3 separate regions of the Homo sapiens genome follow, and regions 2 and 3 are each linked to region 1. The links are contacts of gene promoters, found by promoter capture Hi-C in human tissues and cell types (Jung and others, 2019). All regions are on one chromosome and are shown on one strand. The core of a region is centred on a gene start or on the middle of the fragment in contact, and the rest is flanking DNA. Distances in the headings are between cores, read along the strand shown. Region 1 holds the start of FZD4 (frizzled class receptor 4). Region 2 overlaps LOC107984361 (a long non-coding RNA gene). Region 3 overlaps TMEM135 (transmembrane protein 135).

What was found. The method cuts DNA at HindIII sites, captures the fragments that hold promoters and counts their contacts. A contact is called where the count stands out against the background at its distance.
Region 2: a fragment that was not itself captured here is called in contact with the fragment with the promoter of FZD4 in region 1 in 2 of the 25 tissues and cell types used here (mesendoderm cells and thymus).
Region 3: a fragment that was not itself captured here is called in contact with the fragment with the promoter of FZD4 in region 1 in 4 of the 25 tissues and cell types used here (IMR-90 fibroblasts, aorta, mesendoderm cells and 1 more).

What each region holds. Positions count from the first base shown.
Region 1 is chr11:86,953,483-86,958,190 of GRCh38, reverse strand. FZD4 (frizzled class receptor 4) reads left to right here and starts at 2,796. Exons shown (of 2, transcript NM_012193.4): 1 at 2,796-3,390. The coding sequence starts at 3,106. FZD4-DT (FZD4 divergent transcript) reads right to left here and starts at 2,570. Exons shown (of 3, transcript NR_038905.1): 1 at 2,479-2,570; 2 at 165-209. RefSeq lists silencers at 2,069-2,218, 2,569-2,938, 3,069-3,118. The HindIII fragment of the contact is 8,131 bases long and covers 1-4,708 here.
Region 2 is chr11:87,383,198-87,387,905 of GRCh38, reverse strand. All of the region lies in intron 2 of LOC107984361 (a long non-coding RNA gene), which reads right to left. Among named protein-coding and RNA genes, the nearest start is that of LINC02711, 330 kb to the left of the region's middle. The HindIII fragment of the contact is 3,422 bases long and covers 322-3,743 here.
Region 3 is chr11:87,214,887-87,219,594 of GRCh38, reverse strand. All of the region lies in intron 5 of TMEM135 (transmembrane protein 135), which reads right to left. Among named protein-coding and RNA genes, the nearest start is that of TMEM135, 180 kb to the right of the region's middle. The HindIII fragment of the contact is 6,422 bases long and covers 1-4,708 here.

The DNA.
Region 1 (4,708 bases), core at 1,547-4,046:
TGAGGCAGGATGCCAGGTCTAGGAATAAGAGGTCCAGATCACAAAATGGTCATCTTTAACTATGGATTAGGCTGGGCGTGAAGCAGTTTCCTCTGCAAGAGCAGTACCATGCACACAGAGTTTAGGGCCAGGCAGACATGCATGAGTTCTTCTCTACGACTTACTGTGTAATCTTGGGCAAACTGCTTGGCCTCTCAGAGCATCAGTTTCTGCAAGTTGTGAGAAATAAATAAAATTAAGAATGTAAGGCATGTAACACAGTGTCTGAAAGTAAGAGTTCTATATGAGTGGTTTGTTATTGATTTGAAAACAGTATTCCTTCACCCAGAACAAATGATGTTCCTTGTGTGCCAGGCCCTGTATGAGGGACAGGTCCTCCTCCTTGACCTCAGGGAGTTCACTGTTTAATAAACCATGTAACCATATCTTCAGCACAAAGCACACCCCACCACCACCACTCTTCCCTAGAAGAAGGGCCAATTGCATACTAACTACACTTTGTTGAGTAGCTACGAGTCTTGCAGGTCATCCCCCTTTGAGTAGCCCTCCAGACTCAGCCACTTCTACCTTCAATTCACCCACAATTCTCTATCTGTGCACTTAGCAAACTAAGTTATTGTTGTTTGTTAATCCTTTGTCTCCTCCTGTGAGATCCTAAAGGATGAGGATTATCTATTCATTTGATCTGTTCATCTGATTATATATTCATCTCTGTAACCCAAATGATTAATAGATCATTTGATCTCTACATCTGATCGTTTATTCATCTCTGTAGGCCAAGGGTTTTATGCATTACTCAGCACAGGCACACAGAGATTCAATCCTATTGCTGAGTACATTGATTTCCAGCTGGGAATTTTTTCTGGGAAAATAGCCCTGCCTTCCATCTTTGAAGAGCCTCTTCTGGGCCCTGGTTTGGTTGGTCTTGTCATTTTCTATTACTGTGGTTCTAGCCTCAGTTTCCTAATCTCTATAAGGAGCTAACGGAACCTCCTTCACTGGGAGTTTATGATGATGACTGGAGACAATGCAGCTTCTCCGTGTCCAACACAGTTCTAGGCACAGAGCCAAATACCAAAAAAAAGTTGATTCCATTTTTGCCCTCAGTCAAGTCTCGTTGCCAATATAAGAAGACTAAAAATACAAGACAGAATATGAGTGTCACATGAGTGGCACAGACATTCTTCCAACTTGCATCTAGCCTCTGCCATATGCCACAGAATTGGCTGAAATGGGAGGATAAAAACATGCATAAAACAGTGGCAAGTGTTGGACAAAAAGATCTCAGGAAGAGGGTGAAAAGCCTTTTACCCAGATCCTCATTCCGGGGCTGCTGGAGCTGTCTTTAGCACCAGGCTGGAAAGCAGGAGGCTGTCCCATAATTGATCTCCCCTAGCTGTTTTGGAAACACATACACACACACACACACACACACACACACACACACACACCCCAATCACCAAGTTCTTCAGCATTTATTATGTGTCAGACACTGCTAAATGATTTACAGGTATTATCTCACTGAACTCTTAGAACAACTGTGTGAGGTGGATATGAACTTCCCCACTTTACAGCCGGCCACTTTGAGGCTCAGAGAGGCACCATAGCTTCAACACAGTCAAGCAACAAGTAAACGGTGGAGGAATCCACCTGCTGGGAGTTTACTGGCCGACTGGAAAGCAGAGAGAGGGTGGACCAGCACAAAGCCGCGGGGGGCTGGTAATGAGACAGGAAAGTTGGGTTCAAACCTGGGTCACATGATCCCCAGATCCCTAGGAGCCGAAGCAGAAGCAAAGAAAAAAAGGGGTGCAGCCTGGTGGGGAGGGGGTGCCCGGGAGGCCGGGAGAGAGGAGTCACGGTGGTTGTGCGCCTTCCTCGTCCCCAGTGCACAGGTCAAGCCTCTCCCCTCCCGCCCTCTCACCCTCCCAACCTTATTTAGAAACCGTGTCCCCGAGACAGGAAGGGCGGCGGGCCGAGAAGCACGGAGAGTCCCGGTCTCATTTCCTTTCGAATCCCCCTGTGGAATTTCATTTCATACGGTGAGGAAATCAGAGCGCGAGACCGTCGGCGGGTCTGCAGCTCCGCAGCTCTGGGGCGCCTCCCCGCTGGCGGCTGGAGGTGGGCGGCTCCCTGCGCAGGTCGGGCGAGTCTGGGGGCGGGGAGAGGCCGGGCCCCGATCGCCGCTGGTCCGGAGTGAAAATAGCTGTGGACTCACGCAGTACCAGGCACCATGCTAAGCCTTCTACACTTTATCTCTAATCCTCCCAAGTGACTTTACAGAGGAGACTGACGCCGAGGGGTTGAGCAATTTGCTCAAGGTCACACAACCGGGACTGAAAGCCACAATCGGTGTAAATCCAAATCCCCAATTCTTTGTGTACGTTTCTCTGCCTGACGGGGAGGTGGCCACCGGCCTAGGTTACAGCTGAAAGGAGACAGGAAGGAAAGGGGGCAGATGGAACAGGGCGCACTTCTCACCTGCAGAAGGGGGCAGGACGGCGTGGCTGGAGCCACTGGGCTGCGTCCCTGCTTGGCCCCTGCGCGCCTAGATCCGGGTGGGAGGAAAGCAAGAGCCGGGAGGCGGGCGGGGCGGGGCGCTAGGGGAGGGAGGGAGGGAGGGGCGGCCGGAGGAGGGGGCCGGAGGGCGGGGGCCTGACTCCTCCTGCGGGAGAGCGGCCCCGCCCCGCCGCCTCGCCCCTAGCTGCCCACCGCGCCCGGCCATTGGAGAGGCCCGCTGTCCGTCCCGCCCCGCCGCCGCGCCGCGAGCCTCCAGCGCCGCGCAGGGCTCCGGCGGTGAGAGCTGCGCAGCGCTGGCTGCTGGCTGGCCTCGCGGAGACGCCGAACGGACGCGGCCGGCGCCGGCTTGTGGGCTCGCCGCCTGCAGCCATGACCCTCGCAGCCTGTCCCTCGGCCTCGGCCCGGGACGTCTAAAATCCCACACAGTCGCGCGCAGCTGCTGGAGAGCCGGCCGCTGCCCCCTCGTCGCCGCATCACACTCCCGTCCCGGGAGCTGGGAGCAGCGCGGGCAGCCGGCGCCCCCGTGCAAACTGGGGGTGTCTGCCAGAGCAGCCCCAGCCGCTGCCGCTGCTACCCCCGATGCTGGCCATGGCCTGGCGGGGCGCAGGGCCGAGCGTCCCGGGGGCGCCCGGGGGCGTCGGTCTCAGTCTGGGGTTGCTCCTGCAGTTGCTGCTGCTCCTGGGGCCGGCGCGGGGCTTCGGGGACGAGGAAGAGCGGCGCTGCGACCCCATCCGCATCTCCATGTGCCAGAACCTCGGCTACAACGTGACCAAGATGCCCAACCTGGTTGGGCACGAGCTGCAGACGGACGCCGAGCTGCAGCTGACAACTTTCACACCGCTCATCCAGTACGGCTGCTCCAGCCAGCTGCAGGTGGGCGCCCCCACCCCCACCCCTGGCGGGACCCCTTGGGGAGGGACGCTCCAAACTAACTTTGCAGAGCCCATGCCAAGTTGATCATCCTAGCCCGAAGGAGACAGCTCTCCTGGAAAAGTGATTTCCATCCCCACCCCCACTTTCTCAGGGACTGGAAGCCAAAACGTTGTGTAAGTCATCTGGCCTGGGAAAGAACCCACTCTTACACCCCGCCCTTCCGTTTTTCTCTCTTGCCCACCCATGTCTGGCCCAGACCCCTAACCCCAGTGGAGCTGAGGGTTATCTCTGCCAAGGATTCTGGCCGCCACTGCTCGGTGGGCGAGTGGGAGGGAGCCAGCTGCAGCTAAGACTTGGAGGGAGTGATAAGGAGACCATCCTTCACCGAACTTCCTTCTCCCCACTATTTTTGGGGTGTTATTAAATGAAACACTACTGCACCTTTTTCTGCTGAATAGCCCCTTCTCACGACGTCCCGCAGCGTTTTAGAGGTCATGCATGAAGGAGTGGTTGGGTTGGCTTGAGTTCTTTCTTATCCTCACAGTTGAAGGCACGTTTAATGCTTGGAGGGTGAGAAGAAGCTGCAGGAAGGTGGTTGGTATATTGGAAGAAATTTTTTTGCAGTCATTAAAAAATGTAAAGCATATCTAATGATAGAGAAAATGTTTATTCCACAGTAATAAGAATTTGCATATACAGGGTGATTATAATCCTGCAAAATAAAAAATTTATTGGGATAATAAAAGACTGACAGGAAAATTTTTAAAGTGTTAACATTGGTTATGTTTGGGTTGGTGAGGCTGGGTGATTTTTAGAAATTTAGAAAAGAGAGAAGTTGTGGGAAAAAGTAGACGTTAGTTGTCCAGGCTTCAGAAATCTGGTTTCTGGCCGGGCGCAGTGGCTCACGCCTGTAATCCCAGCACTTTGGGAGGCCGAGGCAGGTGGCTCACGAGGTTAGGAGTTCGAGACCAGCCTGACCAACATGGCGAAATCCTGTCTCTACTAAAAGTACAAAAATTAGCCGGGCGTGGTGGCGTGCGCCTGTAATCCCAGCTACTCAGGAGGCTGAGGCAGGAGAATCGCTTGAACCCAGGAGGCAGAGGTTGCAGTGAGCGGGGATTGCACCATTGCACTCTAGCCTGGGCCACAGGAGCGAAACTCCGTATCAAAAAAAAAAAGAAAAGAAAAGAAATCTGTGGTTCTGGCTGTAACTTCTGAGAGATAATAAACAGACATACAGCTTACTTACTAGGTGCATGTTTTTACATAGGTCATTTTAAAACTTGGTTTGTGGTTTTGGAAAGATGGTGGGGATTAG
Region 2 (4,708 bases), core at 783-3,282, 430 kb before region 1:
CCACTTGATCAAATTGGCTATTGAAGCTTGTGCATGCGTCATGAAGTTTTTGTGCCATGGTTTTCAGCTCCATCAGGTCATTTAAGGTCTTCTCTACACTGTTTATTCTAGTGAGCCATTTGTCTAACCGTTTTTCACGGTTTTAACTTCCTTGCAATGAATTCGAACATCCTCCTTTAGCTCAGAGAAGTTTGTTATGACCAATCTTCTAAAGCCTACTTCTGTCAACTCGTCAAAGTCATTCTCTATCCAGCTTTGTTCCGTTGCTGGTGAGGAGCTGCAATCCTTTGGAGAAGAAGAGGCACTCTGATTTTTAGAATTTTCAGCGCTTCTGCTCTTGTTTCTCCCCATCTTTGTGGTTTTATCCACCTTTGGTCTTTAATGTTGGTGACCTACAGATGGGGTTTTGGTGTAGATGACCTTTTGGTGATGTTGATGCTATTCATTTCTGTTTGTTAGTTTTCCTTCTAACAGTCAGGTCCCTCAGCTGCAGGTCTGTTGGAATTTGCTGGAGTTCTACTCCAGACCCTGTTTGCCTGGGTATCACCAGTGGAGGCTGCAGAACAGCAAATATTGCAGAACAGCAAATATTGCTGCCTGATCCTTCCTCTGGAAGCTTCGTCCCAGAGGGGCAGCTGCCTATATGAGGTGTTTGTCGACCCCTACTGGGAGGTGTCTCCCAGTTCCATTTCACGGGCATCAGGGACCCACTTGAGGAGGCAGTCTGTCCATTCTCAGAGCTCAAACGCCATGCTGGGAGAACCACTTCTCTCTTCAGAGCTGTCAGACAGGGATGTTTAAGTCTGCAGAAGTTGTCTGCTGCCTTTTGTTCAGCTATGCCCTGCCCACAGAGGTGGAGTCCAGAGGCAGTAGGCCTTGTTGAGCTGCAGTGGGCTCCACCCAGTTCAAGCTTCCCGGCTGCTTTGTTTACCTACTCAAGCCTCAGCAATAGCAGAAGCCCCTCCCCCAGCCAGGCTGCCATCTAGCAGATGGATCTCAGACTGTTGCACTAGCAGTGAGCAAGGCTCCGTGGGCATGGGAGCCACCAAGCCAGGCACAGGAGAGAATCACCTTGTTTGCCAGTTGCTAAGACCTTGGGAAGAGCACAGTATTTGAGCAGGAGTGTCCTGTTTTTCCAGGTAGTCTGTCATGGCTTCCCTTGGCTAGGAAAGGGAAATCGCCTGACCTCTTGCACTTCCCAGGTGAGGCGATGCCCCGCCCTGCTTCGGCTCACCCTCTGTGGGCTGTACCCACTGTCCAACCAGTCCCAATGAGATTAATCAGGTACTTCAGTTGGAAATGCAGAAATCACCCTTCTTCTGCATCAATCCTGCTGGGAGCTGCAGACCGGAGCTGTTCCTATACGGCCATCTTGGAACAACCCGAGATAAGAAATTTTTGGTTGAAATTTATTTTTTTTAAGAATGCTAAAAATAGGCCCCTAATTTCTTCTGGCTTGTAAAGTTTCTGCTGAGAAGTCCACTGTTAGCCTGATAGGGTTCCCTTTGCACATGATCTGACCTATTTCTCTAGCTGCCTTCAAGATTTTTTCTTTAGCATTGACCTTGGACAGTCTGGTGACTATATGCCCTGGTGGAGTTAGTTTTGTATAGTTTCTCCCAGGTGTTCTCTAGATTTCTTGTACCTGGATGTCTACCTCTCTAGCAAGATTAGAAAATTTTTCTTGAATTATTCCCTCAATATGTTTTCCAAGTTGTTTACTTTTCCTCCTTCTTTCTCAGGAATGCCAGTAATTCATAGCTTTTGGTTGCTTTACATAATACCATGTATCTTGAAGAATTTGGTTGGTTGTTTTAATTCCTTTTTTTTTTTTTTTTTTTGGTCTGACTGGTTTAGTTTGAAAGACTGGTCTTCAAGCTCTGAAATTCTTTCCTCTGATTGATTCAGTCTATTGCTAAAGCTTTCAATTGTATTTCAAAATTCATTGAGTTTTTCAGTTCCAGAAGCTCTGGTTGATTTATTTTTAAGATGTCTCTTTCTTCATTTCCTGGATTGCTTAGCAGTTTCTTTGTGTTGATATTCAACTTTGCCTTGGATCTCATAGACCTTCCTTGCAATCCGTGCTTTGAATTCTTTATCTGTAGTTTCTGAATTTCCATTTTGGTTAGGGACCCTTGCTGGACCAATTAGTGTGATCTTTTTGTGTTGTCTCCACATTCAGATTTTTCATGGTGCCAGAATTCCTGTGCTGGTTCCTTATCATCTGGAGAGACTTGCACTTCTAATTTTTGTAGTTATTTTTATATAGGTAGATTTTTTTCTTTTTCTTTCTTTCCCTATTATGTTTCCCTTCCTTTTTCTTTTCCCCCCATTCCCTAGGGAATGTGACTGTAGAGAATGCTGGATACAGTCTTTTGGCTTTGCTTCAATAGCCGTAAGCACTCTTTTTTAGTGGGTTTTATATTGGGCTGTGCTGTTTGACCTACAAGCCAGTAGAAGGTACTTATAAGTAAGTAATCTGTGGCCAACATGGCTGGGTATATACATGATCCTTGTTTACTGGCAGAAGCTGTTTCCTTAGTCAATGGGCTGATTCATGGAAGGCACAGTGGTCTGAGCTCCATGTTCAGCCACTGGTGGGTGGGGGCCACGATGGGCAGGGCTGGACTGGGGGGTCCACCTACAGATCCCTGATGGCAGGCATGAGCATCAGTGCCAAGGGAGAATCCAGCAGGCAGCCACCAAGTACCCAGAGGAGTGCCTAGGCATGGAGCTGGGAAGCTTACTTAGCTCTTCAAGTTCTCTGCATGGGGATGGGAGAGGGCCTAAACTCCTAATCTGGGAAAGTAGGTGCTCCAGATGCTTGGAGATCTATTTGAGCGTGGAGCAGAGAGAGCCCCCACTACACCAAGATGTCTGCACAGGAGGGGTGGGGTGACTCAGACTAACAGGGTGGGCAAGCAGGTGCTCTGAATACCTGGAGATCTGCCTGGGCATACATCAGAGAAAGCTCAGGTGCACCATGATCTATATCCAGGAAGGGTGGGGTAGCTCAGGCTGCTGAATAGACAAAATGCTCCAAATACCTAGAGATCTGCTTAAGCATGAAGCAGAGTGGGCGTCCCTGCACCAGGAACTCTGCCCAAGAAGGGTAGGGTGGGTCAAGCTGCTGATCTAGGTGAGAAGATGCTCTGAATGCCTGGATGTGGAGCAGAGAGAGCCCTAATTCACCATGATCTATGTCCATGGAGATTGAGGCAGCTTACACTGCTGGCCTAGGGAAGTGGGTGCTACAAATGCCTGGATTTCTGCCTGGGGGTGGAGCACAGAGGGCTCTACTGCACCACAATCTCAGGGGAGCAGGCTGAGGGTGCCCAGCAATGGCACACACAGACCGGTTCCAAGTTTCCAAGCTGTCCCTAGCTGCAAGTCTCACCTCTCAGGAGAAACTGCTGCTGTAGTATTTCTCTGCCACCTCTACGCTTGCAATGAGGGACAGCATAATTCTAATGCCTAATGCTGAAATGCCTTCCTCAGTTCTGGCTGTGGGAGCTCCTATTCCACTTCAGAGTGGGTGCTCCAATCTCTGGCCTGAGAATATATTGTTTGTGTGGCCATGCTGCTGGGTAGCCAAAGAATGGCTGACTTTTTATGTGCCCAGGTTAAAAACGGCATCCTTATCTCAGTCCTGGCTCTGGGACTGTGTCTGCAGCTTTTCCCTATCTTTCCATCACAGCATATTCAAGCCTCTCCCTGTTAGTTACAGGGCTTGGGAGAAACATAGTGCTGTATCTCAGCCGGAATTGCTCAGTATCACTGAGCAATTTGGTATCACCACCAAATGGTTTTGCTCTGCATCCTCCCCACCCAAATCTCATATCGAATTTTAATTCCCCGTGTTGAGGAGGGAACCTGATAGGAGGTGACTGGATCATGGAGGTGGATTTCCCTTCTTTTGTTCTTATGACAGTGAGTTCTCATGAGATCTGGTTATTTAAAAGTATGTAGTAGGGCTGGGTGTGGTGGCTCATGCCTGTAATCCTAGCACTTTGGGAAGCTGAGGCAGGCAGATCACTTGAGGTCAGGAGTTCAAGACCAGCCTGGCCAACAGGGTGAAACCCTGTCTCTACTATATGTACAAAAATATTAGCCAAGCATGGTGGCACATGCCTGTAGTCCCAGCTACCAGGGTGGCTGAGGCAGGAGAATTGCTTGAACCTGGAAGGCAGATGTTGCAGTGAGCCAAGACTGCACCACTGCACTGCAGCCTGGGTAATAGAGCAAGACTCTGTCTCAAGTAATAATAATAATAATAATAACTATGTAGCACTTTCCCCTTCACTCTCTCTCTCCTGCTCTACCATGGTATAAGACATGTTTGCTTCCTCTTTGCCTTCTGCCATGATTGTAAGTTTCCTGAGACCTCCCAGCCATGCTTCCTGTATAGCCTTTGGAACTGTGAGTCAATTACACCTCTTTTCTTCATAAATTACCCAGTCACGGGAGTTTGTTATAGCAGTATGAGAACAGAATACACTTGGATTCCCAGTGGAAAGGTCAGTCACAGGGGAAGGCTGTCTGCCTCTCTCATATACTTAGGCTTCAATCACCATTATCAGCCAGACACCATCACCAGAGCTGTTTGCTGGCATTCTCCTCCCTGGAATCAGTGATGTTCTTCATAATTCCACTGGATTCCCATTTTCCTTCTTGAATTAAAGCTCACGGAGTAGACCTTTATGAACTA
Region 3 (4,708 bases), core at 1,024-3,523, 260 kb before region 1:
TAAGATTGGTGTCTGTATAAGAAGTGGAAGCAACACCAGAGAGAGCTCTCACTTACTCACATGCTTGCTCCTTGCTCGCTCTTTCGCTCTCACTCTCTCACTCTCCCTGGCTCTCTCCCCCCAGCCCCGCCACCACCCCCTGACCACATGCACAGAGGAAAGCCCATGTAAGGAAATACCAAGAAGGCTGCTGTCCATAAGCCAAAAAAAGAGGTCTCACCAGAAACCAACCCTGACAGCACCTTGATCTTAGACTTGTAGCCTCCAGAACTTTGAGAAAACAAATTTCTATTGAATAAGCCATCTAGTCTGTAGTATTTTGTTACGGTAGCCTTGGTAGATTAATAATACGACCTCCAAAATTTAGGTGATTTCTACCCAGATGATTGTAGACCATTCTCAGTATTGATAATTTCCAGTACTCAAACTGCTTCTATTGAAATTCTAATCTACCTCTGAGTTGTTAGCTCTAATTAGCTACATATAAATGCATGTAAATATTTCTAATGTTTTAATTTTATTTAAATAATTTTGAATAGATATTAGACAAGAATCATATTGTCTTGCTTTAATAAAGTATGCATATATGTTTTATGTGAATGACAACTTGTAAATTTTACGGCACAGTTTTTTGAGACAGAGTCTCACTCTGTCACCCAGGCTGGAGTGCAGTGGCGTGATCAGAGCTCACTGCAACCTCTGCCTCCTGGGTTCAAGCGATTCTCCTGCCTTAGCCTCCCGAATAGCTGGGATCACAGGTGTGCACCACCATGCCTGGCTAATTTTTGTATTTTTAGTAGAGACGGGGTTTCACCATATTGGCCGGGCTGATCTCGAACTCCTGACCCCAAGTGATCCACCTGCCTCGGCCTTCTAAAGTGCTGGGATTACAGGCATGAGCCACCGCGCCCAGCCTACAGCACATTTTTATAGCCCTGTGAGTTGACGGCTTGGAATCATGAATGGCTCCAACAGGATTACCATGAATCACTGTGACAGAAAAGGGGATTTAGGCATTATCACCATAAGGAAAAACTACTAAAGCAATATCAGCTGGTATATTCATTTTTCAGATTATCTAGGTAACAGATAGTAGATGTTAAAGAAATAGAGCCCAAGGGAGCTAAGCCTGATGAGACCAAGAATCATTAGTGAGGATAGGTCTAGAGGGGTGGTACAGAGCATGAGGGCAATGGAAGTGATGATGTTACAAATATGGCAAGAATCTGTTCAAAGTAAGTGTTTCCTACTTCATACCTTTGCCAAAGGCCAGTATTATCTGGCCTAATAACTTCAGGCCCAGATAAGTTTTAAAGATCAAAGGGCCCACTTCTAAGTTAAATCCCTAGAGTTTTTTAACACTGACACTAGTGAGATTTGGGGGTGGATAAATTATTTGTTGTCTGGGTGGGGCTCATGGCAGGGAAGAAGGGCTGTCTTGTATTATAGGATGTTTAGTAGCATCGCTGGCCTTTACCTAGACAGCACCCCTCTGCCATCCCCACCAATGACGACAACTAAAAATGCCTCCAAACATAGCCAAATGTCTTTAGGAAGATGTACAAAATTGCCCCCAGTTGGAATTACTGCCCTAGAAGAAGCTTAAAGACTTGGAACACTCATACAATCTTAAGCACTGAAAAAGGCCTGAGAACTATCTAATCCATCCTCTTCTCCATGACATGAATCCCCTCTGCAATGATCCTAAAAGATCACTGTCTAGCTTTTGTTTAAACATCTCCTAGAATAGGAAATTCTCAACTTTACCAGGCAACCAAACCCACCACCCCAACCTTCTTTTTTTTTTTTTGAGACAGAGTTTCACTCTTGTTGCCCAGGCTGGAGTGCAATGGCACGATCTCGACTCACGCAACCTCCACCTCCCTGGTTCAAGCGATTCTCCTGCCTCAGGCTCCCGAGTAGCTGGGATTACAGGCATGAGCCGCCACGCCGAACTAACTTTGCATATTTAGCAGAGACGGGGTTTCTCTATGTTGGTAACGCTGATCTTGAACTCCCATCCTCAGGTGATCTGCCCACCTCAGCCTCCCAAAGTGCTGAGATTACAGGCAGGAGCCACCGCACCCGGCCCCAAATCCCTTTTTAGAACAGTTCTATTTGAAATCCATTTTTGGTCAGTTCTCATTATTGTACTGAAATTTGCCTTTCTCTAAATTATATTCATAATTCCTAGATTTATAAAACACTGATCATTTTTCCACAAACCCAGCCCTTCAAATATATAACTTCTACACCTTGATTCTTTGTAGGTCAAGAGAACTACAAGAGACACACAAACAACATCAATTAACATTCTGTATACCCAATGGTCAAGGAGTTGCCCAAGCCATTCATGGGATATAGAGAAATTGGTCTACCTCCCGATTCCAGATGAGCTCAGCCCTGGATCACACATGCATTTATAGCAATATTTATAAACACTTTAATATTTAAACTTTTATATTCTCAAAAACATACCCTCTTATTTATTACATTTTTCTTTTCAAATTATTTACCTTTCATTTAAACAGGCAATTTCTGATAAAGATTAAGTTGTTAGTTTTTAAAAAGACCTATTCCCTCATTGTTGGACCAAATGATATGCCTCCATCAATATACTCAGAGCCTTTTTATTATGCTATTTTATTACATACACTACTTACTTAGATGTAAATAAGCCCTTAATTTTGTACAATTTTACTTCTTGTGTAATTGATGCTCTAAATTTTGGATTGCTGTGTTCTAAAATGTGTTTTTAAAGCATCATTTTAAAGTAATTGATCAAATCAAAGCATTTAAATCCCTCAATTGGAAAATATATTTTAGAAATGGCTTAAGGCAAATATATTTTTATAAAACCTTAAAGTGCTTATGGTTTAACTGTATAATTAACATCACATATCCAAAACTCAGCCAACAAGTCCAATTATCTAAATAGTAGTTTTAAAGTTTTGTTTTTTAAGCAAAGAAACTCTTTGCTCAAACAAAACCAGACCTGCAAAACTTTTAGTAAAACAAATGAATGCAGAAATGCTCTGCCTGAGGTAGGATAAGGTACCCTAAAGTCCTGATTTGCCTCTCATACTGTGTTACATAGTAGTTCCTGGTAGGCTCTGCAAAACTCTGGGAATACATGAAGAATATCTTGGAAAACACTACGTCAACACATAGTCAAACAACAGGGTAGAGTAAGCCACTGTACCCTCTCCCCTGCACTTGCTTCTCAAAAGAAAAAAAAAAGGTTCAGAGGCAGGAGAGAGAAATTCACACCCACCATGCACTTAACTTGTAGTAGAATATCTTAGGTCTACTCTCAAGGTAAGTCTGTTCTTAGTTTACATATCATGTTGGCAATACAAGCTAAGGGATTTTCAAAAAGACTGTAGTCCCCCCTTATCCGCAGGGGATCCATTCCAAGACCCCCAGTGGATGTCTGAAACTACTTATAATGCCAAACCCTATATACACTATGTTTCTTCCTATACATACATACCTGTGATAAAGTTTAATTTATAAATTAGGAACAGTAAGAAATTACAATAATAAAAAATAGAACAGTTACAATATACTATAATAAAAGTTACATGAATGGTCTCTCTCTCTTTCTCTCTCATCTTCTTGTACTGTACCACAGGTAACTAAAACCAGGAAAAGCAAAACTATTGACACTATGGTTAAGAGGAGGCTATTAGATAGCAGGAAATTCAGCATAGAAGGGAGAGGGAAAACAGGAGATACTAGAGGGAAACATATAAATAACAATGAAGTTATAGTTGAAAGCAAAGGAAAAGTAAAGCATCAATAAGAATGATACACTGTTTACAAAGTTGGCCACAACAATTTCTCCCATCCCTGTATGCATACTTCCCTTGCCATTTGACTTGCTGTTCCACTCCTAGAGACAGAGATAGAGAGGTAAGTTCCCCATCCTTCCTGGGTTAGCCCTTATCACTCACTTTGACCAACAGAATATGGCAAAAGTAGCTCTGTGTAACTTCCAAGTCCAGTGCCCCACTTTCCTCTCTTGGAACCTTGAGGGCATTACATAAATATGAACTAGCCAACTTGAGGATGAGAGGCAACAATGACAGAGAAGCCGATGACCAACTTAACAGGTGACACCATGTTAAGACCAGGCAGCCCCAGTCAAGGTCCCAAACAACTATAGCTGCATGACTAATCCCAAGAGATACCAGCAGAAGAGCTGTCCAGCTAAGCCCTGACCAAATTACTGACTCACAGAATCATGAGCAAATAAAACTGTCACTGTTTTAAAGCCAGTAAGTTTTGGGGTAGTTCATTATATGGTAATAGATAATAAGTAACTGAAACTCAAAATTAATAGTTACCTGGAAATCACTTAGGTAGAACAAAGAACCCTATCCAATTCAGTAGGTCCTAAATGTGTAAATATTATTGTATTATAAAGTATTTCATATTAGTAATAGTTAATAATAAATGATACAAGTTGTTTAGTATGTTCTAAATAAGAAAAAGAAATATGTGACACCTTCTGTAAACAATTTAATATAATTAAATATATTTTAAAGAGTCCCAAACTCATGGAAAACTTGGATTTCTGCATTACCAAATAACAAATTCTATTGATCTTAAACATTCAATACAATCAATAAAATTATTTAGCACCCATACTTCATTAACTATTCCATCAGTGTTAAATAAAATAGAAGGTCAATTATGGATATAT